2 separate regions of the Homo sapiens genome follow, and region 2 is linked to region 1. Evidence: promoter capture Hi-C in human tissues and cell types (Jung and others, 2019). All regions are on one chromosome and are shown on one strand. Each heading gives the region's core, a stretch centred on a gene start or on the middle of the fragment in contact. The rest is flanking DNA. Distances are from core to core; before and after follow the strand shown. Region 1 holds the start of NUDT5 (nudix hydrolase 5). Region 2 has its middle 14 kb from the start of OPTN.

Region 1 (6,664 bases), core at 1,231-3,730:
CTGCAACACAGGAAATGCAGCAAACCCAACTAGAAGATGACTAGCATTTGGTCACCTTCTAAAGATAGAGGGCAGAAGTAGAGTCAAGATCTGGAAACCATTCTTGGGTTGGCAGTGAGCACCTACCGCTAAGAATTCATGATACTTTTGGATGTGTCTTGCTGGCTTTCTATTCAACTGATCACCAGAGATATAAAGCTGCTTAAACTAGGCATGCTTTAGCTTAATTTGTTTCAGGTAATCATAATTAAGGATGGCAAAGCCATACCTGAAGTCTCTTAAAAACTTATGGGATAATTTGTTTTTTACCTTGAAATAATAAATTATCAAAAAGCCCTACCACAGATCCCTAAGAGTGCTGGTATTATTTTGATTTTGAGGCATATACATCTTCAAAAAGTGGAAAAGATTACAGCCTGCTTTCCCGAAGTTAACAGAACATCAATGACTTATAACATGTCTCATTTATTTATGGAAGAAGTTTTTTTTGGCACATTACAAATGGTTTTTTTGCACAAAAAAGAGTATTCATGGGCTACTTCGGTTTTAAAAATAAGTATTTTTATTTATTTTTAAATAAATAAAAGATCACTGCCACTGCACTCCAGCTTGGGCGACAGAGCAAAAACTTCGGTTTTAAAAATAAATATTTGATTTATCAAAGGTACAATTTCACATTCAAAAATCTAGTTCTGGCCGGGCGCGGTGGCTCACACCTGTAATCCCAGCACTTTGGGAGGCCGAGGCGGGCGGATCACGAGGTCAGGCAATCGAGACCATCCTGGCTAACACGGTGAAAACCCCGCCTCTACTAAAAATACAAAAAATTAGCCGGGGGTGGTGGCGGGCGCCTGTAGTCCCAGCTACTCAGGAAGCTGAGGCAGGAGAATGGCGTGAACTCGGGAAGGGAAGCTTGCAGTGAGCCAAGATCGCTGCCACTGCACTCCAGCTTGGGCGACAGAACAAAACTCTGTCTCAAAAAAAAAAAATCTAGTTCTTCAGGCTTTTAATTTCTTCTAACAAATCTTATTACGTTTGAAAATCTACTAAATTTTAAACAATTTCAAGCGAAACTTTGCAACTTAAAAGTCTCTTTAAAATTTTAAATTCTATTCATAAACCACTCAATTTTCTTTCTTAATATGTCTATTTGCTGATTACAAATAAGCCTTCCTAAGTATTTTACTCTTACAAAGCTAACAAGCGAAATTGTTAAGTACAATGAATCTAAGGTTCTACCACACATTCCAATACTATTTAAGAACTTGAAACTTTTCTTATACATTTTAACCATTCTAAGCCAGTTACACATTTTCAAGTACATATCCGATCTTTATTGAATGAAACCATCATATAATGAATCAGCAATTACTGAAATGTTGGCTCAGAAAATCAGTTAAGTGCAAAGCCCAGATTTTCTATCAACGCCTTTAAAAAAACTGAGAGATGAAATTGTATATATTAATACTTGCCGCCTACCTGATGTTTTTAAGTATATATACACTGTGGAATAAATTTAGCTAACAAATGCATTGCCTAACATAGTTATTTTTGTGGTGAGAACACTAACATCCACTCTCCGTTTTTCAAGAATACGTATATCGTCATTAACTATAGCCTCCATGCTGTACGACATATCTGTGAACTTGTTCTCGTATCTAACTGTAATTACGTATCCTTTCACCTTCCCAATCTCCATCCTCTGGGGTGATGGCGAAAAGCAATTAATTCTCCGAGTGCACTTAGGCAGTGATCACCTTGCGCCTGGGGCCATTCTAAAAGTAGTGGTGGTGAACTCCCAAGCCTAAACTAGGTTAATCCACTATTCCTCCCGCCTCCGACCCTCACTGAAAACCACAACTGACCCTCCTAGCCAGCACACTCGCTGGCTCGCAACAGGACGCAGACAATTGCTGATGTACTTCCCTCTCGACACACTCCCTCCCATGCAGTCGCTAGAAGGCCTGCATTTTTTTGGATAGCAGTAAGATTCGCTCAGAAGTCGCAGTTCCCTTTTGCCGGTCGACCGGGCGAACCCCCTCCCATCTCACCTCTTGATGGTAACGCCTCGGAAGAACGGGTACCACGCGGAGAACTGGCAGTGAAGCACATGCTCCTTCTTCATCCTCCAGCTGCCGCCGCTGCTGCCTTTCCCTCTCCTGCCTGCACCCTCCCGGAACTCTGGGCGCCGGCCCCGGAAGTGCCCGCCGAGCTATTTTGGTTCAAGGACTCTTCCGGTCCCTAAAGCAAGAAGGAAGACCGAGAAAAGGAAGCGGAGGAGAATCCCGGGGCATACGCTTGACACACACGCATACAAAAAGAGCTTTAGTCTCGAAAGAGGAATTACCGAAGTGTCGAGAGAGGAATTTTAAGAAGTTTACAACTCCGTCTTCGCCCTAAACGCACGCTGACCCGGAAAGTAATCTCCTGAAGCTAGGTCAAAGGCGGGGGTTCTACGGATGCCGGAAGGAGGGTGCGCGCCCATCCTTTTAGCACCGCGAGAGGCGCCGGTGTTTCGAGCCGTGGCACCGGCATCGGCTGACACTGCTGCCTCCAGCTAGTTATTTCGTCCTCTTCCGTTCTTCACCCCTACACCTTGGAGTAAGTAACCGGGGCAAGCCAGTCACAGCACAAAACCTCTTTGGGGAGGAGAAGAAGAAGGGGAAAGGGACCACATCTGCATGGTGCGTGCAGCCGCGCGGTGTCTCCCAGGCTGCGGCTGGGCACGCGTCCAGGCGCCCAAGAGGGAAACTGGGGATTGGAGGGAAATTGTGGATTGGAGAGGAAGAGCCTGGGCTACTCCGAGTAAAGAAAGCGGGGAACACCACAGCTAAGTGTTAGTTCCAGTGTAAAGATTGCAGCATCTGCAGAGGAGTAGAATGCTTGGTAGAGGGAATACCGCCTGTACGATCCTGGAGGGTTCGACTTTGGGAGGTAAAAGGCGAGAGGTAAATGTGAGAAAGCAGAGGAAAGAGGAGTCTCCTTGGAGCGCTGAATTCGTTTAGTCTGGCCTCGCAAAAGTTGTCAACCTGGAAAAAACGCAGATTTTTATCAGTATTCCTGCGATGATCGAATCATAAGACTGGAAGAATTCGAATCGAACTTGTACTATCGTTTTTTCCTTTGCTTCACTCCTGTCACCCAGCAAAGTTCAGTTTTGTTTGTTTCGTTAAAAGAATGAGAAGTAACTAGCTGCTTTTATTTATTTATTTGAGACGGAGTCTCACTCTGTGCCCAGATTGGAGTGCAGTGGCGCAATCTTGGCTCACTGCAACCTCCGCCTCCTGGGTTTAAGTGATTCTCCTGCCTTAGCTTCTCGAGTAGCTGAGAGCGCGCGCGCGCCACTACGCCGGCTAATTTTTGTGTTTTTAGTAGAGACGGCGTTTCACCATATTTGCCAGGCTGGTCTCGAACTCCTAACCTTAGGTGATCTGCCCGCCTCAGCCTCCCAAAGTGCTGGGTTTACAAGGCGTGAGCCACGGCCCCGGGCCTACCAACCAGCCGCTTTTAACCCCTAGTCGTGTCGCTTACCACACGAGCTTTAGGCTTGCGCGAGGCATCTGCGTCTAAAAGTATCTCCTTAAATGTACATTCTTCCTGGTTCACCTAAGTAGTTTTAAATTAGAAACAGCCCCACCGACTGCAGGCCTCTTCAGAAGGGTGTTCCTTAGAATAATAAACAATTATCTGCGTATTTTGAGTTAGAAACTCTTCCCCCCAGGAATATATACATTGTTTTGGGTTGTGTTTTGTTTTTCTCAAAAATGTTACTGGCTAAGTGGCTAGTTGGAAGCAGTGCTTTAAAGAATACATTTTCAAAGCAGAGGTAAATAGATTATAATGTTGCAGAGTATGTTGGTGGGGATGGACAGTCATGATTCATCATTTATGCCTTGATCCGGAACTATGCAGTCCTTTCTGATTTGAGGGAAAGAAGCAATATTGTATATATGTCTGGAGGGTGGTGCCAGAAAGACTTAATGGCAGACAGGAGCAGTCGCTCAAATAATTGTTTTGATTTGACTTAGAAAGTAAAAAATTGCGCGGAAGGAGATGTTAGCATCGATGGGGGATTTATTTAGGTCAGATGTTTTCTAATGAAGATAGGAATGAATGTACGGAAGAGAATAGATCCCGGGAACATAGCCCTTCTGCGAGGAGCAGTACTTTAACAGCCCAAGAAACATTTGAGCATAGGCCGGGCGCGGTGCCTCATGCCTGTGATCCCAGCACTCTGGGAGGCCGAGGCGGGCGCATCACCTGAGGTCAGGAGTTTGACCAGCCTGTCCAACATGGCGAAACCCCGTCCCTACTAAAATATCAAAAATTAGCCGGGCGTGTTGGCGCATGCCTGTAGTCCCAGCTACTCGGGAGGCTGAGGCAGGAGAATCGCTTGAATCCGGGAGGCGGAGGTTGCGATGAGCCGAGATCGCGCCACTGCACTCCAGCCTGGCAACAGAGCGAGACTCTTTTTTTTCCGTCTCGGGAAAAAAAAAAAAAAGAGTGTAGAGATTAAGGCAGTTGCAAAGCTTTAATATAGAATTGCAGTTGTGTGTAGAAAAGCAGCTAAGTTTGTAAGCTTAAATATATAGATACTACAGGGAAGGAATTTTTATAGATACCTTTTATTCAGGCAGTATACTTTAGAAGTGTGTTCAATGACTTTTTGGTATTACAGTTGGTTTTAAGTAACTTGTTACACATTTAACCAGCATCAAATAAATTGACATTATACATAGGAGATGCTCAAATACTTTGAATGGATACAGCTAAATGAGGGTTCACTGTATTTTAACCACCGTGGTTGTCTTCACTAAGCCATGAAGTCATTGTATTCATCAAGTTTCTCCAATAAAACCTTTCAACAGTGGAAATATTTGCTTTTTCTCCTGCATGCTGAAAAGTCAGTAGTCATGTGATTATGGGGGAGGAGATTTATTGTGCAATTCCTAATGAAGTAATGAAAAAACACATTTCTTTCTCTGAATCCATAGCATGACTAATCATCCTAGATTAAGATTTTCACCTGTCTGCTGGTTTTCTTCATCTGGATGTCTGCTATCACCTCAAACAAGCGTGTACAGATTTGAGCTCTGCATCACCCCTTTTTTCTTCCGATGTCCCAGTCTCCCTTAAAACTGTCTTCGTGGAAATTAAATGTCACTTTGCCACGGCTACCACTCTACTCCAGACCTGTCATCTCCTGCCTGGACTATCTTTACAGTGTCGTTACTATACGTCTGTAACCAATTCACCTTCCCAAGGGTCATTACAGTCAGTTCACTCTTGCTCAACCAGCATTAAATGTGAGGATTTTAAACCACCTGCTAAATGATTCCTGGAGATCACCAAGTAGCATAATTTCAGTAAACGTTAATTACTCCCTGCCCACCCAACTGCCACACCTGAAGAGAATGAAAAAAAAACCCATAAGTGAATTCAATTGTGGGTACCCAAATTTTTTACCATAAATGGCACAAAAGAAGGATACATCAGAATATTATCCTTTTTTTTTCTTTTGAGACAGAGTCTCGCTCTGTCGCCCAGGCTGGAATGCAGTGGTGCAATCTTGGCTCACTGCAACTGCTGCCTCCTAGGTTCAGGCTTTTCTCGTGCCTCAGTCTCCCAAGTAGCTGGGACTACTGGCGTGTGCCACCTCACCCAGCTAATTTTTTGTATTTTTAGCAGAGATGGGGGTTTCACTATGTTGGTTAGGCTCGAACTCCTGACCTCAAGTGATCCACCTGCCTTGGCCTCCGAAAGCGCTGGGATTACAGGCATGAGCCACCGAGCCCGGCCAGAATATTATCTTTTAAAAATAGAATTTAAAAATTTTTAACTATGACCAAAATTATTAAATATAACTGCAAATTATTTGATTCTTTGTTCCTTCTAAATCAAGTGACTTTTCTTTGTAATTATTCTGCCAGAATGTAGATTGCCACTTTAGACATGCCCAATTTGATGCCTGACTTTAACAAGACAATCATAAAGTAAGTTATTACTGCAAAAAAAATTGATCCTCTCTCCCACTTAATTTCTTTTCTTTTCTTTTCTTTTTTTTTTTGGAGACAGAGTCTCACTCTGTCACCATGCTGGAGTGTAGTGGCATGATCTCGGCTCACTGCAACCTCCACCTCCCTCGTTCAAGCGATTCTCCTGCCTCAGCTCCCCACTTAATTTCTTTCAAAGTGCCTTGTTGATTTCCCTATTCAATTATTAAACTGTTCCAAGTGCCTGACCCTCTTTTGTCAGTCAGAGGCTCTACTTATGATGTGGGCTCCTGCATCTTGTATTTGGTTGAGTATTGTTGATATTAACAATATTCATCTTTTATCAGGAGAGACCTAGCCAACATACAATTTCTTGTTAGGATTTTTTGCTTCACTTTGCAGCCTCAGCAGATGGCCGGGATTCGGGTACGGTGATTGAGTAATGAGCCTCAGTGCCAACTGCAGAACCAGGCTTTTGAGTTCATAGTTTAACTTCTGGAATCTAAACTCCCACTTAACTCTTTATGCAGCTGTTGTTACTAATACTGGCATACTGAAGTTGGTGAAAAATTAATCACTTCCTCCCTTTCTGTAGAGGGCTGTACTTGCTGCCTAACCCCAAAATTAGTTTATTTTGGTGTTTGTTTTTTCATTTTTTACATAGGATCTCA
Region 2 (6,912 bases), core at 803-3,302, 890 kb before region 1:
CACTTACAAATATTCATAAATAAGTGTTCACTTACAAATATTCATAAGTGTTCATTTATAAATATTCATAAATAAGTGTTAAACAAATAAAGTTACTACTTTAAGACGACTCTTTCTAAAGAGTTAGCCACTATCTGTAAGCTCTAAGATGTATTTTATATGGTCCGCTGTGTAGTTTTTGGATCTGAATCAGAACCTGGAGAATTTGAGGAGGGAATTTGTCGTAGACCTGTTCTACATATATCTCAATATCCAGTTAATATTTCTTTCTTCTTTTATTTTTTTTTTTTTTTGAGACAGTCTCACTCTGTCACCCAGGCTGGAGTGCAGTGGCACGATCTTAGCTCACTACAACCTTTGCCTCTAGGGTTCAAATGATTCTCCTGCCTCACCCTCCTGAGTAGCTACAGGTGCCCGCCACCATACCTGACTAATTTTGGTATTTTTAGTAGGTTTCACTATATTGGCCAGGCTGGTCTCGAACTCCTGACCTCAGGTGATCCTCCTGCCTTGGCCTCCCGAAGTGCTGGGATTACAGGCGTGAGCCACTGCGCCCAGCTAATATTCAGTTAATTTTTTAAAAATGCTTTCCTCCTTTCCGTCTTGTCTCCTTAATGCTGCTTAACGCCTCATTTGCTTCTTTTGCCTGTGCTTTTGGAGACAGGGCAGGCAGGTGAGCGGCAGCCTGTCTCATTCCATTCCCTCGGTAGCCTCAATTTTTTGCAGTGTGCCATCTACAGCTTAGTTTTCATCTCTAGTTCTCATATTACTTTTCAAGATCAAAAACCTATTTCTCAATATGATTCATGCTCCTTGGAGACTTGTGCTAATTATAGTTTGATGATATTGACTCTGCTGGATTTGGGGCGATGTCATTTTATGACGTCCCTTTCTTGTGTTTATCAACACTGGTTTGCTCAATTCACGTTTCCTTTTCATTTATTCTAAGAGTTACAGCTCTCCAATAGAATTAGATTCTTTCTATCTTTAGAGCAGCATGTTAATTTTTTTTTATCCTTCTCAACATTATTTCTAAATTGTTGAGTCTTTTTAATGATAACTAAAACCAACACTACTTTTACAATGACTCAATGGTGAGTCAAAATTCTTGTATCTAAGTTTGCTAACATAAATTTACTGTAGATTAGTCTTTTGCTAGGATTTGACTGGGGCGGCTGTGTACAGTTGTGCAGGCTGTTCACTGCATCCCCAAGGGGATGAATGCAGGCTGAAGCATGCCAAGTCATGCACTTTGGTGTGAAGCTGCGTCTTCCCAAGGAAGTAACTCCTTTCTCAAACGCACACAAAGACTTTTTACCAACTAGTGGAATCCTGGATCTGATCATTTTATACAGATCCTCAGCTTGCAATGCTATCCGTGAAGTCCTTGCCAAAAGCTTCCTAATGTGAGCACATCCAAAGTCTGGAGGACCACAATTGCTAGTGCACCAACCTTGTAGATCTCTTACCTTCAGGCTGTAGAAAAGCATTCCAGCCCATTGCAGAGTACATAGGAAAGCGGCGGCTATGGCTTCTCTATGCTCCTAGCTCTCTGCGCCAGTTTCTCCACTGACCTTAGATGATACTTCTAAGTATCATCTTCTAAGTATCTAAGGATAAGCCCCAACATAGCTTATCCTTTTATAGTAGGGAGGAAAACTTCTACCCCTTAGGACCTCCTGTTTTTCCCCAGACTTCCATAGCCCTTCTGTGCTTCGATCTCACCCGCCCATTTCCAGGGTCCAGACTTCTCTTGTGCTGGTTTTTAGCCTTCTATCTGGTCTTCTGTTATAAGGTGCACTGCTAAGAGGAGTGGACATGGAGAAGGGAGAGGGGCAAAGAGGGTGGGCCAGATATCGTCAGCACTGTTCCTAGCACCATTTTTTTTTTTTTTTTGAGATGGAGTTTCACTCTTGTTGCCCAGGCTGGAGTGCAATGGCGCAATCTCAGCTCACCGCAACCTCTACCTCCTGGGTTCAAGCAATTCTCCTGCCTCAGCCTCCTGAGTAGCTGGGATTACAGGCATGCACCACCATGCCTGGCTAATTTTGTATTTTTAGTAGAGACTGGGTTTCTCCATGTTGGTCAGGCTGGTCTCGAATTCCCGACCTCAGGTGATCCACCCGCCTTGGCCTTCCAAAGTGCTGGGATTACAGGCGTGAGCCACCATGCCCGGCCTTGTTCCTAGCACCTTTTATGCTCTTCTCTGTATCTTAGGCCTTAGAAGCCTAGGGACTATATTTCTGAAATGCCTTTGCCAACAGGCTTTAGGATACAGCTGAGAAGATGTGTCTGTGCCAGGTTTGAAAAGCTGAGGCTGCAACAGGTGTGTGGGCTTCCAACAGATGAATCTGCAGCCCCTTTCATGTTTCCTTAACTGTTATTAGCCCAGGGCTTGTAGGCATCTGGGACTACTGGCAGTGGTTTTCTGCATTTTACTCACCTCTGGGTGGCAGGTGCCGCTTCCTGACCCCCTGGACCAACCACAGCTTTGGTGACAAATTTGAAAACTAGGATTGAATTCCCTGAAACTCATCGTAGAAACCTTTTACAGAGGCCGGGCGCGGGGGCTCATGCCTGTAATCCTAGCACTTTGGGAGGCTGAGGCAGGCGGGTCACGAGGTCAGGAGATCGAGACCATCCTGGCTAACACGGTGAAACCCCGTCTCTACTAAAAATACAAAAAATTAGTGGGGCGTGGTGGCATGTGCCTGTAATCCCAGCTGCTGGGGAGGCTGAGGCAGGAGAACCGGGAGGCGGAGGTTGCGGTGAGCTGAGATTGTGCCACTGCACTTCAGCCTGGGTGACAGAGCAAGACTCCATCTCAAAAAAAAGAAAGAAACCTTTTGCAGAGAGGATTCAGAGTTTTATTCATAACTCCCAAAATATTCCAAACAATTGCCTTAAATCTTAAATATTGATGTGAATATTTACTCAATGACTTGGAATTGTTATGCTAACTTTGGAAATATCTCAAAAGAATGATTATTCATCTACTTTGCATTTGAAACTTACAAATTTTGGGTTTCACTTCCTTTCATTTGTTATTCATATAAGAAGTATTTACCAAGTAAAAGCTACTTGATTATAAATCCCCAAAGGGCCTGGCTCCATGAATTATTCTGTTTCTCATATGCGCCATCTTTCCTGCTTCCCTTGGCCTAAGAACATATGGAAGTTTATACCAATCTAAAAATAATCACTAAATAACAAGGCCTCTCTTGGTTCATATTTTCCCTTTATGACCACTTTTTCTAATTAATTATCTTTTCATCCAAACTTCTTCAATATATACTTGGTCTCTTGAATTTCTTTCTTTCTTTTTTTTTTTTTTAAGAGGGAGTCTCTCTCTGTCACCCAGGCTGGAGTGCAGTTGCACAATTTTGGCTCACTGCAACCCCCAGCTCCCGGATTCAAGTGATTCTCCTGCCTCAACCTCCTGAGTAGCTGGGATTACAGGCATCTACCACCACACCTAGCTAATTTTTATGTTTTTAATAGAGATGGGGTTTCGCCATGTTGGCCAGGCTTGTCTCAAACTCCTGACCTCAGGTGATCTGCCCACCTTGGCCTCCCAAAGTGCTGGGATTATAGGCATGAGCCACTGCACCTGGCCTCATGGTCCCTTGAATTTCTGATGTTTTATGGAATATTTGAAAGTTTTCTGCCTGGAAAGGAGGGAGGATTATGGATCAAAAAGTTTGAATTAAACAAAATGTTGGAGACTGCTTTCCACGGTCTTCAATATGCTGATATGCATTACAAAGCCCCACAACGGAGGTGGGGATGGGGTCACGGATTTCAGTGCTTCCTGAATGCTTTGGACTGAAAATCCATCTGCTGTGTCCAAAATCGCTAAGGACCTCCCGTTGTTAAATTCAATGGGCATGTAACAGGGTGTGGAATTGTTGTTAGCAGAAGAAACTGACATGTGAAAGTTGCCAGCCATTTCTATTTCTGGCATGGGGACACTGAGTCATCTTGAAGCTGACTTCTTTGGGAAGAACCACTGGAGTGGCTCCCTTTAGTGACAGAGCCGTAAAGTTTCTGGGGTGCGCACACAACAGCACGCTCACTCAATATTCCCTTGGCTGGGGCTGGGACCCAGGCTTGCTAGGCAGACTCCAGTGCCTTGATCTCAGGTTGCTGGGGTGGTGGTGGCAGTTTGCCTGGAAGCCAGAACACTTTCTGGAAGGAAGGATATTGACACTTCAACTATTCTCTTTGTTGTCAGGATCTTCAGGGGGCCTCAGAAAATAGTTCTCTTCTTCCCTGCCTGGGTTCTGAACAAGTGTGAAACCAGAGAAAGGCAGATGAGAGATTTAAAACTTTTTTGTATGTGACTGACAAAGGCTTGGTTGGAGGGCGTGATTTTCTGTTGGGGAACGTCACCTGCTAATGGGGTGCTCTAGCATTTTCCAGATGTGTCCACACAAGCCTGGCCCCTGCACCCATACTGTGCTCTCCTTCCTCTCCCTAGACAATCTCACTCCTTCTCATGGCTTTGCTCACCTCCTCCCCACATCTTCAGACCTCTGTAATCCACTGATTGCTGGCAACTTTCTGGGCATCTCAAAATCAGGATCTCACAATGTTACTGGAAAGGAGTCCCGATCTAGACCCCAAGAGAGGGTTATTGGATCTCGTGCAAGAAAGAATTCAGGGTGAGTCCACAGTGCAAAGCAAAAGCAAGTTTATTGAGAAAGTAAAGTGGGGCCGGGCGCGGTGGCTCATGCCTGTAATCCCAGCACTTTGGGAGGCCGAGGCGAGTGGATCACCTAAGGTCAGGAGTTCGAGACCAGACTGACCAACATGGAGAACCCTGTCTCTATTAAAAATACAAAATTAGCCAGGTGTGGTGGTGCATCCCTGTAATCTCAGCTACTTGAGAGGCTGAGGCACAAGAATCGCTTGAACCCGAGAGGTGGAGGAGGTTGTGGTGAGCAGAGATTGTGCCATTGCATTCCAGCCTGGGCAACAAGAGTGAAATGCTGTCTCAAAAAAAAAAAAAAAGAAAAGAAAAGAAGGTAGAGTGGTGAAAGATGGCTACTCCATAGACAGGGTAGGGCGTTCCCGAAGGCAGAAGAAGAAACATGTCCACCCTAGGTATAATACTCATTTATGTAGGATAAAGAAGATCATGGGGAGATGTGCTCTGCTACAAGGGTTTGTGATAAAGGATTAATTTTCTTAATGACTATATCTTGCAAGAATCGATATTACTATCTTTAAAGCAAAATTAGGAATGCTTCTGTTCTCAAGATATTGGGATATCAGGATGTTATATATAAAATGTTTATTCAGAAACAGAATGCTTGTTCCTTGGTACCATAAGGAAAAAAAAATCAGCATTTAGACAAAAAGTTTTCTCAGCAAGGTTATTTTACTTTCTGCAGAAAGGGTGCTCCTCGCAGATGGAAAAATGGCAAGAGCACACCTGAATAAAGGAGGGAAGCAATTTTTATCCCTTACGCAGCTTGTCCCTGCTACTCTGTCCTGTCTCCATTGGCTGGAGCCAGACCTCACAATCTAAACTGAACCCAATTGGCTGACAATTTAAAACTTCTCTAAATAGGTAAAAGCAATGGAGAACAAAGGAAAAGAGGAAGTTGCTTACGAAAGGACTTAGAAAAGTAATAACATTCCCAAATAAGGAAGGGGCATAGGCTGTGAGCTGGGACATGCCTGTGAGCACCTCCAGCACAGATATCTTGGTTAAAGTACAAGGACATAGAATGTACTATGTGCCTGTGAGCACATTTAACAGCTACATAGGATAGGGCTTAACAAAGAGTTATTAGCACAAATCAAGGAAGCTTGAAGGAAGTTAGTCTTTAAAAGAAACTATTATTTCTAACACTTATGATTTATTCTTTAACAAAAAGGGAAACTGTGAAGAGGAAACTTTTTACTTTCTACGGTTCCCTCCTCTTGATTTCATAGTTTTTTCCTCTGCAAACTTTCTTAACATGTCTTGTTCTAGCTATTTTGCTTGAGTTTTTAAAAGAAAAAGCTTTTCTGGTTGATGAAATGCCAGGGTAAAAGGGATAGCCAATTGAACTAGAGTGCAAGTACTGCTCTAATTGTTTGGCAGAATGTCCAGTAAAGGTCCTCTACAATACTACCATACATCTGCTTGGTGATGAATAATGGTGGACTGATGGGTCAGCTCTTGGAAGTGCCTGAACTCACTGCTTGTTAAGTCTCCAAGGAATGCCAAATTTTCCCCTTGTCGTTGGAGAAATGAGGTAAAATTGGTCTTGAAAGATGGAGGCTGTGTGGGCAGCAAGCCATCCAGGTGCTGAGGCAAGAGACCGAGGGCACAAGCTGTTCCAGTATAATAAAGAAAACACATAGAAGAGGAATAGTTGTACTAGAAATAGGATATAGATATGATTATATATGAATATTATTAATCATTAGTTTGTAGCATTACTCTTTATTCCACTGTTATAATAATTTCTGTTCTACAATTATAACCTAGGAAAAACCAGGCCATACAGAGATAGGAGCTGAAGGGGCACAGTGAGAAGTGACCAGAAGGCAAGTGTGAGCCCTCTGTCACGCCCGGATAGGGCCACTAGAGGGCTCCTTGGTCTAGCGGTAACACCAGTGCCTGGGAAGGCAACCGTTACTTAGCTGACCTTGGTCTAGCAGTAATGTCAGTGCCTAGGGAAGGCACCCGTTACTTAGCAAACCGGGAAAGGGAGTCTCCCTTTCCCCAGGGGAGTTAGAGAAGACTCTGCTCCACCACCTCTTGTGGAAGGCCTGACATCAGACAGGCCTGCCCGCAGCCATCCAGAGGCCTAAACGTCTCCCTGTGATGCTGTGCTTCAGCGGTCACGCTCCTGGTCCACTTTCATGTTCCACCCTGTATACCTGGCTCTGCCTTCTAGATAGCAGTAGCAGAAT

Evidence for each region. Contacts are between HindIII fragments. The study calls those that stand out against the background at their distance.
Region 2: a fragment that was not itself captured here is called in contact with the fragment with the promoter of NUDT5 in region 1 in 1 of the 25 tissues and cell types used here (dorsolateral prefrontal cortex).

What each region holds. Positions count from the first base shown.
Region 1 is chr10:12,191,707-12,198,370 of GRCh38, reverse strand. NUDT5 (nudix hydrolase 5) reads left to right here and starts at 2,480. Exons shown (of 10, transcript NM_014142.4): 1 at 2,480-2,601. It overlaps CDC123 (cell division cycle 123), which reads right to left and starts at 2,183. Exons shown (of 13, transcript NM_006023.3): 1 at 2,052-2,183. The coding sequence starts at 2,125. RefSeq lists an enhancer at 2,167-2,436. The HindIII fragment of the contact is 7,930 bases long and covers 1-6,664 here.
Region 2 is chr10:13,082,389-13,089,300 of GRCh38, reverse strand. It overlaps a transcript of CCDC3 not described here. Among named protein-coding and RNA genes, the nearest start is that of OPTN, 14 kb to the left of the region's middle. The HindIII fragment of the contact is 7,727 bases long and covers 1-5,915 here.